Regions from separate parts of the Homo sapiens genome. Here region 2 is linked to region 1. Evidence: promoter capture Hi-C in human tissues and cell types (Jung and others, 2019). All regions are on one chromosome and are shown on one strand. Each heading gives the region's core, a stretch centred on a gene start or on the middle of the fragment in contact. The rest is flanking DNA. Distances are from core to core; before and after follow the strand shown.

Evidence for each region. Contacts are between HindIII fragments. The study calls those that stand out against the background at their distance.
Region 2: a contact is called between a fragment that was not itself captured here and the fragment with the promoter of TNS1 in region 1, in 5 of the 25 tissues and cell types used here (IMR-90 fibroblasts, bladder, mesenchymal stem cells and 2 more).

What each region holds. Positions count from the first base shown.
Region 1 is chr2:217,999,774-218,005,232 of GRCh38, reverse strand. TNS1 (tensin 1) reads left to right here and starts at 2,238. Exons shown (of 33, transcript NM_001387777.1): 1 at 2,238-2,393. The coding sequence starts at 2,361. RefSeq lists enhancers at 953-1,052, 2,793-3,293, 3,294-3,794. The HindIII fragment of the contact is 30,357 bases long and covers 1-5,459 here.
Region 2 is chr2:217,858,568-217,863,875 of GRCh38, reverse strand. The region is part of intron 18 of TNS1 (tensin 1); the gene reads left to right. Among named protein-coding and RNA genes, the nearest start is that of SNORA115, 27 kb to the right of the region's middle. The HindIII fragment of the contact is 3,104 bases long and covers 36-3,139 here.

The sequences.
Region 1 (5,459 bases), core at 989-3,488:
AAGGTGACTTCTCAGAACTCCAGAGAAAGCTGCCTGGAGGCGTCTTCAGTGACGCCAGCAGTGAAGGGCTGTGGGAGCAGGCAGCGGGGAGCTTGGTGTGAGTGGGCACTGGGATGTCAGGGCTTAGCTGGCTGAAGGCTTGAACTTGTCAGGGGACAAGGGCAGCCTGGCAGAGCTGGTGATAGTGGCTGAGGAGGGGCTCAGGGGCTCTCAGAGAGGCCTCCTGAAGACCACTCCCCTTTGCTTGCCTGGTGCTCCAGCCAGGGGAGACGGGAGGGTTTGCAGAGGTTTCTGTCTATGGACATCCCCAGCTGTGACTGCAGGGCCAACTGCATGTGGAACACTGGTTCATTTCAGCGTTGGCTAAAATGTCAGTGAAGCCCCAGGAGGCTTAGAGTAGGGGGTCCAGAGGGACATTGTGATCCTGGCAGGGAAGGACACTAGAGGCAGGATCTTTCCCAGCCCCAGAGCTCTGGAGGACTTGGAGAAGTATGGAGAGAGGACCCTGACTCCTCTACCGGAACAAAGACTCTTCACTCAGGTACCTGCTTTAGGAAGGGCTGGAAATTGACACTTCACTTCAGTGTCCTCCCCTGACTTCTCAGAACCACCAAACAATAGATGGTTAGTCCCTTGTGCTGTGGACAACCTGTGTATCTGAATACTGCAGTCTTTTTTTCAGATGAAGAGTCAGTGTTTCCCCTTCATTCTGGGGTTTCCCAGGTAGATGTCTTGGGTGGTCCCTGGGCTGGGAGTTGGCACAAGTGGCTGGGCAGATCCCTGTGAAAGAGGAGGCTGGTAGTTGCACGGTATGTGGTGCTGACAGACAGCGGCATGGCATGGCCTTGGGTGAGTGGGGGGGGGAGGCAGGGGATCTGTAACCCTTCGTGCATGTGGCCCCAGGGCATGTATAGCACAGTGTGCATAGGAGGCCAGGCAAGAGAACTTTTCTTGCTAAGTGACTCAGTCTAGGAACGAGGTCTCCAAGTGCCTACTCTGGGAGGGCTCTTATGTGTTGACGTGAGTTGGACTGTGTCCTTGTGTGTGTGTGTGTCCACAGGAGGGTGTGGGGCTGAGCCCTCCCTCCTTCTCCTGGACAGCTCCAAAGAACAGAGCGGGTGATTCACTGGCCCCCACCCACCCTCAGTTGGTCCAGCCAAGGCCAGAGCTCAAAGAGGAAGGGTTTTTTTTGGAGGGGAACGTGGTGGTTCCAGACAATGAAGGCCTGGGGCAGACTTTGCTGGATTCCCCCTTAGTGCTCCGTGGGAATACTTTTGGGTTTTGACCCAGCCTCCTTTCCACCCTCTAGACCCCCAACAATTGTCCCTGGGCAGAGGTGGGGGCGAGGGGAGGGGAGGGCTGGTGGGCAGGGGACACTGAGGGGAAGAAATAGGCCTGTGGAATGGTGGGAGGGGAGAACTGGGCCCAGGGAGGGGGAGAGGGGAGGAGGGGGAGGAAGTGGGGAAATGCAAACCAAATGTTGGCCCCGGGTACAGTCAAGAAAAACACACTCTCGCGGGAGCCTGGAGCGGGGCTCCCTTTCAGAAGGGCAGGAAAGGCTGGGACAGATGTTTGCAGGAAAGAAAGAAAGAAGGGGGAAAAAAAAAGAAATAGGAAAAAAATTGGAATGAAACCCACAGCCTGGGGGCAGGGCCATTCTTCCCCAGTCTCGGGCCCTATTTCTTCTGTGTTAAGGCCTGTCCTGGGCTCTGAGCTTGGCGCGTGGGCACCAGAGTCTGTCCCAGTCTGTGTGTGCAAATGCATGTGTGTTCCGAGGAGGCCAGGAAGGCAGGCACGGGTACTCAGAGAAGGGGAGGGGCCAAGGCACCCTGAGTGTGCTGATTGTGTGGGCCTGGGGCTGTCTGTTCATCCATCAGTGGTCTGGAGGGTTCCAGGAGTGAAGGCCCCCAGGCTGGTTTGCCAGGGGCGGGGGTCTGCAGTGAGGAGGGAGGACTCCAGGCCTACCAGCACCAGATCAGAAGACTGAGGAGCCTTGGTGGCACACAGGGGTTGTGTGTCCGGGGGTGGGGGGCACGGCCTGGGGGGGCCCTGCCTCTGGTAGCTTTCCCTTTTCCCTGTCCCCTTTACACCCCCTGCAAAGCAGGGTTCCTGACCCTCAAGGCCACCGGTGGAGCCTGGGAGGAGGGAGGAGAGAGGAGGCTGGGACGAGGGGTGGAGTGGGGGGAGGAGGAGGAGGAGGGAGGGTGAGCTGGAGGCAGCAGGGCGAGAGGCCCAGCAGATGCTGGCGGAGCCGGAGCAGCCGCGGACTCAGAGAGCCCTTCTGCCAGCGCCGCGGGGACTCTAGCTTCAGGGGCTCTTCACAGGCCCTGGGCGTGCCTCAGTGACGGGACCCAGCAAAGATGACGTGGATCTGTCTGTCCTGCATGCTCTGGGTAGGTCTGGCTGCTTTAGCTGCGACGTTACTCTTCCTCAAACCCCCCGCCCCCCACCGGCCCCTGCCACCTTATCCTTTTGCTGAGAGCCCGGGGTCGGGGGGTGTCAGTCTTGAAGGAGGGGCCTTTCTGTCTCTGACCTACAGAAGGACAGACTGACTTGAGCAACCCTCAGCCGGAAGACTTTCCCCACCAACAGGGCCCAGGCCCAGGGTCCCGGGTCAGTACATCCCCTGCCCCACCCCCCCACCCCCCAATGGAGTCCCAGAGCTGTAAGTGGAAGGAGGCCACAGAGAAGTTTGCTTCTCTTTAGAGCCTTTCCTCCCGACTTGCATCCTACAATGGGGTGAAAATTCTTCACCGCCCCCCCTCAGTTGCTGAGCCCAAGATCTTGAGGAGGAGGCAGTGGTGGGGCTGGGGAGCAAAGAATAGTAGTCCAAAATATTAAGTCTGGAAGAGCTGGGCTGTGGGAGAATTCTCAGAGTCCATCCCTTTTATTCCTTCTACACCCAGTTTCAGCTTCCACCCACTGCCATCCCTTCCTCCACAGCCCTCCCCTGCTACCAAGACCTCTCCATCCTGGAGGAGGGAGCCATGGCCCGCTCTTCCCCCTTTCTCTCTTGGCTCCAGGTTCAGGGAGGTGGGTTTCAGGATGGGGATGCCAGGGGGGCCAGCAGAGAGGCCTGGGGGCCACGTGGTGAAGGTTAAAAGTCTTAAGGCCAGACCTGGGCTGAGGCTCCTGGGTAAAGGGGGATGGGAGAGGGCTGCCTGCTGCAGAAGGGCTGGGGGTCAGAGGAGGAGAGGACCCCTTCCTCAGAGGGGCTCCTGTGGGGCTGTCTTGGCCAGGCAAAGGCATGCATGGGGTCAGGAGGGTGAGGAAGTCGTCCCTGGCTGAGGTTACTGTTGGGCTCTGAGAGAGTGATGGCTGGTTTGGGGGAGGGGGCTTCAGGGCTGTGATCCAGATGTGGCCTTTCCTGTCCCTTTCCTTGTTCTGGCCAGTCCTCGGGAGGGCCCTCTTGGCCCAGGCAAGCCCATGCTGGGGGCAGTTGTGGGAACACAAACTCGGGCAGCCAGGTGTCCTCTGGGCAAAGAAAGAAAGGGTGGGGGAGGGGGCCTGGAATGAGGCGGTTTGGGTGGCATGTTGGGCTGGGGTGCTGGGATGGATTGGATTAATAGATTGAGAGTGACTGGGGAGGCCTGCACACAGGATGCATTTGTGGTTTACTGGGCTGGTGTTGACATCTGGGAAATGGGAGCCTTGGCCAGGTTCGTCTCTGTGCTGAGGACAGAGGTAGGCAGGAGGGAGCTCTGCAGCAAGAAGGATGGCAGGTAGACGTCCAGGGGTGACACAAGAAGGATGGCAGGTAGACCTCCAGGGGTGACGAGCTGCTGTGACTGGAGAGAGGGCTCTATAGATCCCTTCAGCTGACTGATACTGGGAAAAGTGCCTCATCCTGGTGAGCCTCTGCTTTCCCGTTGGTGAAATGAGGATTGCAGAGAAACAGGGTACAGAGAGGTAGGGATGAAATTTTGTATCCAATTCCCCAGGGCAGTGCCTGGCAGGTAGAGTGCCCTATGGGTGTTATACCCTCCCTGAGAGTAAGGGGAAGAGTCTGGGGACCAAGGCAGCTGTGAGTGCTGCTTCCTTGAGTGTCTTTATTTTTATTTATTCATTTTTTTTTTAATTGAGATGGAGTCTCACTCTGTCACCCAGGCTGGAGTGCAATGGCATGATCTTGGCTCACTATAACCTCTACCTCCTGGGTCCAAGCAATTCTCCTGCCTCAGCCTCCCGAGTAGCTGGGACTACAAGTGCGTGCCAACATGTCCAGCTAATTTTTTATATTTTTAGTAGAGATGGGGTTTCATCGTGTTGGCCAGGCTGGCCTCGAACTCCTGACCTCAAGTGATCCTCCCGTCTCAGCCTCCCAAAGTGCTGGGATTATAGGTGTGAGCCACTGCGCCTGGCCTTGAGTGTCTTTAAGACTAGAAAAGCCTGTGTCCCTCCCCTGTCTCCTTTTCCTCTCCTCTCCTAGTCCCCATCCTTTCTAGGCTGGCTGTGATGCCCATGGCCAGGATGGGCCAGAGACTGGGGCAGTAGGGACTGGACAGAGGAAGCAGTCCTGGCACCAGATAGGACTAGGCTCAAACCCTATTTCCATCGTTTGGTATGGGCAGGCTTGGTAAAGCAGTTCCCTTCATGAGCCTCAATTTCTTGATCTGTAAAGTGCAGAGAATAATATACTCCTTGTATGGCTAGGGTGGGGAAAGAGACAATAGATATCAAAAGATCAGGTATGTAGGCATGCAGTAGGTGCTCAGCAAATGCTGGCCCCTTTCCCACTCCACAGTCTCCTGCCTGGTTCTTGGGATCCTCTGTATCCCAGACCTGATGCTGGGGGAGGATCTCCCTGGGAATGGTGTCATGGGACAGGGCTCTACTCCTTGGGCTCTACTCCTGGGCTGACTGCCCAGGGACTCTGACCAGCTACTCTGAGGCCAGGAAGTGACTGAGATAGTTCTTGTGCCCTAGAGTGAGTGCTTGCATCTATTGGTTCACATGTTCCTGTATGGGGAAAGCTGCAATTGTGTCATCTAAGAAGTAATATATCTGTAGTGCATAGTTTTAACAAGTCCTAGGAATAAAAATCACTTTATTAGCTGAGGAGCAGAGCTATTTATTATGCATAACTTGATTTTCTCATCAAGTGCTCCCATTTGCTATTACATATTCAAGTACGGTTTATTTAGAAAATAATTGCATGCCTAGCAATTGAGGCTTTTTGATGTTGTGCTGGAGGAGTTAGAGGTGGAGGCCCTTCCTTCCAGAGGGACTCACTGGTCCTCAGGAACTGGGAAGGGGCTCAGGGTGAGGCTGAAAGAGCCACCAGGCAGGGGCTGGGGGTCAAGTGCAGCTTTGGCTCTGCCCTGAGCCAGCTAAGTGGTCTCAAGCTGGTCACTCGACTTTTCTGGACCTCACTGAAATGTGGGCTCTATTCTCTAAGGCCACATCCAGCTGCAGACGATGATGTATTTTGTTTCCTGGAGTTGGTGTCCTGCCCAGTG
Region 2 (5,308 bases), core at 338-2,837, 140 kb after region 1:
CTGTGCCCACCCCAGGCAGCGGGCCCTTCCTCCCTCTATCCCCAGACGTTTGAACCTTGACACCATGCCTATCTTGGGAGACCCCTTCCTTCTCCTGTCCTGACTGCTCCCTCCAGCCATGTCTTTCTCTTCCTTGATGGCTGTCCATAGAACCAGAAGTTTTAGAGTTCAAAGCTTATCTCCTCCCACTCATTTTACCACGTTGGAAACTGAGTCCCAGGAAAAGGAAATCACTTGCCCAAGTTTAAGCAGTGAAGTAGTGGCCCAGATGGGGTTGAAACCCAAGACTCTTGAGTCTTAGTTCGGAGATCGGTCTATTACACCCCAGGCTCCTTCATCCCTCAGTCTAGCTCAGGGCCTCTCACCTGTGGTACTATTGGCATTTGGGACCAATACAATTGCTTGGGACCACCACAACAATTGCTTGTTGTGGGGGTCTGTCCTGTGTATTGTAGGATGTTTAGCAGCATCTTTGGCCTGTACCCACTAGACACCAGTAGTATTTCCTCCAGGTGTGATAACCCCAAATATCTGCAGTATTGTCACACATTCCCTGGGGGGCCCTGGCTACCTGGGGGTGCTCCTCTTTCCTCTAACCTCTCATCTTTGTGATCTCACCTGTCCCACCTGCAGGGTGTGAAGTAGTCTTTCACTGGAGACACTCTGTTCTGTTTCCTCCTTCTGTTCTGGGACCCGGCTGCTTGGAAACCAAAGCACTCAGCCATTCTGTTCTTTACGAGGAAGAACAAAGAGCCAGGCCAGGAATGTTGCTTTATACCTACGAATGAAAAGAAAGAACTTGACAGGAAGGGACTAAGCCTTGGAGGGGGTGACCAGGGAGGCTGGGCCCCCTTCCTCCCTGGAGAGACCCCTCAGTGTGGGTGAGGGGCCCTGGCCACCTGGCTCCAGCTGTAGGTCTGCTGGCTGGAAGGATGGTCTGGAGGGAATGGGGGCATTTGCTTGACCTACAGTTGGGAAGTGTGTCTTCATTGTAGAATTGTCCACCAATATCCTACTTTCCTCGCACAGCTAGACCTGCAGACATTTGTGGTTCTTCTGTAATGAGAGTTCACAGTCTCTGAGCACCCATCTCATGGCATCTGACTGAGATCTGGCAGTGGGGAGGACTCCCTCTGAGAGCCAGGGGCCCTGGTGGCAATCTCACTCCAGCACTGACCATGTGTGACAGTGGGAAACTCTTCCCTTCGCTGACTTGGACAGATGAAATCGGGTGGGTGGGTTGGGCCCAATGAACTCACAACATCCTCTGGCTTGACCATGCGGGGATTCTAGGAAATTGCCTGGGCTGACTGCCCACAGTGCGGTGCCATGTGGCAAATCTGGGGTCTTGAAGAATCCTTGGCACCTGAGAAGTTTCCAGAAGGTATCCAGACCCACCCTCCTACCTCTAGAACTTGTGTTTTATGAAACTGCCCTGCTCAGGGCCACCTCAGGGGGTACAGGGGATACTGGGCTGCCTCTGAAGACAGAGTAATACCATCATCTTTCAAGCTTAGTTTAACCCACCCACTATTGGGAAAGACTTTTCTCCTGCTATTTCCTGTAGTTTGTTTTAAGAAAAAAAATTGTCTTTTTTTTTCCCCCAAATAGAAACATGGTAAGACGAAGTGTATTCTTTTTTGAACCAGATTTGCCATGCCCTGCCCTCTGCCCAAGCCCCCAGGAAGTCCTTTCCTATTTATGCATGCAGCTGAGGTTGTGCCCGTCCTTCTCTCCTTGTGGTCCTTGAGGCTGAATTCATCTCTGCAGGTGGAAGTGGCAATGCATTTTCAGGCACACCATTGGCAGTAATCAGTGTTGGGATAGGCTCAGTATTTGTTAATGGAATGGCATCACATCCTTGTAGTCTGCACCATTTTGGAAGCCTCTTCTCTATGCTGGCCATTCCAGGCCATGATTTTTGAGCAGAGATCGGGTGGGCCAAATTGTATGTCCTGAAGCTTAAGCACTGGGTGTGATACATATGGGCTGGTGAGATAGGGTCACAGAGGTACTGCTCAGGGGGCACAGGGCTAGGGAAGGGAGACGGGGAAGCCCACGCTGCACTACTCGTGTTCTGTCCTTTGGAGCACTTCTGTGTTCTGTACACTGTGCTGAGAGCTTTTCATGTGTTATATCAGTCTTTGCACTACTTACTGAGATACAATGACTAGTATACCCATTTTACAGATAAGGAAACTGAAGCTCAGCCAAGTAATTGGCTCAGGGTTGCCTTAAGCTAGTAGTTGGTAGTATCTGTATTCAAACCAATGTCTGACTTCCAAGTCCATGTTCTTAACCTGGCAGATGCTGAAGTGATGAGAATGAGAAGGGCCAGGCATAATCTTAGGCTGCATTAACAAAAGCATGGTTTCCAGAAAATGGGAGGTGACAGGCCTGTTGTGCCTCTTTTAAGTCAGAGCGCCCACATGGGCTGTTTGTGGGTCCCTTGCTTCAAAGTGATAAAGAACGACTGGAAGCAAGTGCAGAGAAGCAACCAGAAAGTATGTCAGGCTCAGGGACTTGCAGGGAGAGGGGTTGCCTGTCAAAGGGGAGATTCAGGAGGGCAGGCACGTCTCATTCAGTATCTGAAGGGCTCTAGCGAGGGGGCGATTGGCTTGTTCTGACCCACTCCATCGGGCACTGTAAGGCCAGTTAGTGGAAAAGAGGGCTCCAGGGTGTTTTTTCCTATGTTGAGCTAAAATCCACTGTTACGGCCCCCTAAAGATGAGCTGGGCTTTTGGAGGAAGACAGTAAAATCCCTGTACCTGGAAGAATTTGAGTACAGCTAGGAACAGTTTTTGCCAAACCTGACTCTCTTATTATTTGCAGCTGGGGAGCATTTTCAAATTCAAAGTCCCAGGCCCCATTCCAGACAGTTTTGCCTCTGTGTGGAGCCAGGGGATCGGGGTTCTTATAAAACTCCCTGGGGGCTTTCTAGTATAGCTAGTCCCCCTGGATGATAGTGGAGAACCATCAGATGGGGTTGCCACTGGCAGGAACTATTGTGTGGTAGTGTTTTCCAAAGTAAGGTTCAGGTTCCAAAGTATGGTCAGACTGCTAATTATATATGAACTGATATTAGGTATATTTATTTTGATGTGTATTGGAAAAAAAGGTATGTATTTTGCACATTCAATCTGGGACATCATGGATATTGTGCTTAGAACTAGTTTAAGTTAAATGAAGTTTATTTTTATAACTTACAAAATAATAATGTAGATGATATTCAGATGGACAAATAAACATGAAGGTTGCGTGCAAACAAAATCTCTGCTAATACTGTTGTGGGTTGGTTGGGGTGGGGACAAGTGGGTGAACTGGGGTGCCTTAAACCTTTCAAGAGCCCGAGGTTTGTTGGTTAGTTCTAGAAGACTCTATGGAGGTAGGAGGATAATTGCAATAGTTTGTCCAAACTGTGGTCTTCCCCAGGTGGAGCCTGAGGCATAGAACCCCTCTGCTTCCCCTCCCCTGGTCTCCTTATTTTTAGTGGTCTCTTTGAAGTCTGTGACACCGAGCTGTCCCATTTTATCTCATCAGTGAAGATAGGTCAGTGGCCAGGGTACAGGGCACTGGGTACCATTTTTGTTCTTCCCCTTATTTTCTTTCTTTACCCTCAAAGAACAGCAGCCAGAGAGGGGTGCTGAAAATGGCGAGGGGCTGAGGGCTCAGGTGTCTGAGGGGAAACACAGGGAGTAGTTGGGCTGTGCCTGGCAGGGCTTTCCCTCCCAATCTCGCTGTACCAAACTTAGCTGGGAAGGTCTGGGCACGAGGATGGGGTAGCCATAGCTCAGGGCAAGCCTGTGTCTGTGGAAGCATTTTGGGGTTGCAAACTAACTGGGGCCCTCTGCATGGAGACACCAGTCGCTGAAGCTCCCACTGGCCTGGCCGCAAAGCCCAGATCACCTCCTGTCCACTCTGAGAATTGGGTTGGGAGATTCAATTGATATGCAAATAAGTCACAAACAACATGTTAATAAGAGTGGGGATTTGGTGTCTTATTATCAGTTAGGGACTCCTGGCACTTTCCAGGGCACATCAGGATAATGGTGGGAACTTGAGGGCCGTTCACCTGCCTTTCAGCTGCATGGCTCTCGGATCTGGGTGGTTGGGAACGAGGGTGAGGCATTGCGAACTCTGAAAAGTGATACTCTGCTATTCATGATTTCCACAGATGGGAACAAACAGAATACCAATAGCCAGTCAATTGGAAGCATCTCAGGTGGCCTGGAGGATCAATATACCTGGCCAGACACACACTGGCCTTCCCAAAGTTAGGCCCTCCAAAATGTCAAGTTGCCAAGCCAGAATCCAAAGCTTTGCACTGAGAACTTCATGTTGGGGCTCCTGTCCCCTCCTGGAGCCCTGCCTGGGTGACACCCCAGTCCTTCTATTCAGGTCCTGTGTTCACCTCTGGGAAGTGCAGGACCCTGTGGGGTTTTTTCTTTTTCCTTTTCCAAGCCAAGGAAGTGTTCTGGCTCCTGGACTCTGCCCTGTGGAGGGGAAAGGGGGAGAGAGAGGGAAAAAAAGATTTCCACCTTATTGTTCAGCAGCTGGAAAATTGTTGTCATCTGTTCTGCCTTCCATTTGCTGAGAATGGAAAAAAAATGTGGAAAATTTGGGGAAATAAATCTCAATACCCTCATAGGACCTCTCTCCCCTCCCTCTCTGGCCCTTGCATCCCTGCCTTTCCGCTTGGGGCTCAGTTTCACTTTGCTCCCAGATTCTCTCCCTGCTTCTCTTCAGGGCACTGGGGCTGCCATGGGTTTGGGACTGGGGCTGGGCTGGGCTACACTGGGACTGGGCTGGGCTGGACTGGGACCCGGTGGGGCTGGGCTGGGCTGTGCTGGGACCAGGCTGGGCTAGACTGTGCTGGGTGAGAGTTGAGCAGGGGCTGGGGCTGGGGCTGGGGCTGGGCTGGGGTTGGGGCTGGAGTTGGACTGGGCTGGCCACTTTTCCTGACTCCCGGCCGGTGGGAGTGAAGGGCTTGGGAAGCCACCGTGATGTCATTCAAGAACGGCATAGCTGCAGGATGATAAGTGAAGCCCTGGGGACCCAGCTGGCTGAAATTACAGACAGTTTTATCCCACTGGCTTCCTACAAGCCAGAGTGAGGCAGAGCAAGCTGAGCTGGGGAGAGAGCGTGCAGGAGAGTGGAGGGAGGGAGGGAGTGGGGTGTGTGTGTGTGTGTGTGTGTGTGTGTGTACATGGGCAGGCAGGCGGCACTGGCTCCTCCCACCCCTGACAGTCGGAGGGAGCTTGAGTAGGACACAGACAGCACTTGGAGCTGCAGCCATGTAGGAATTATT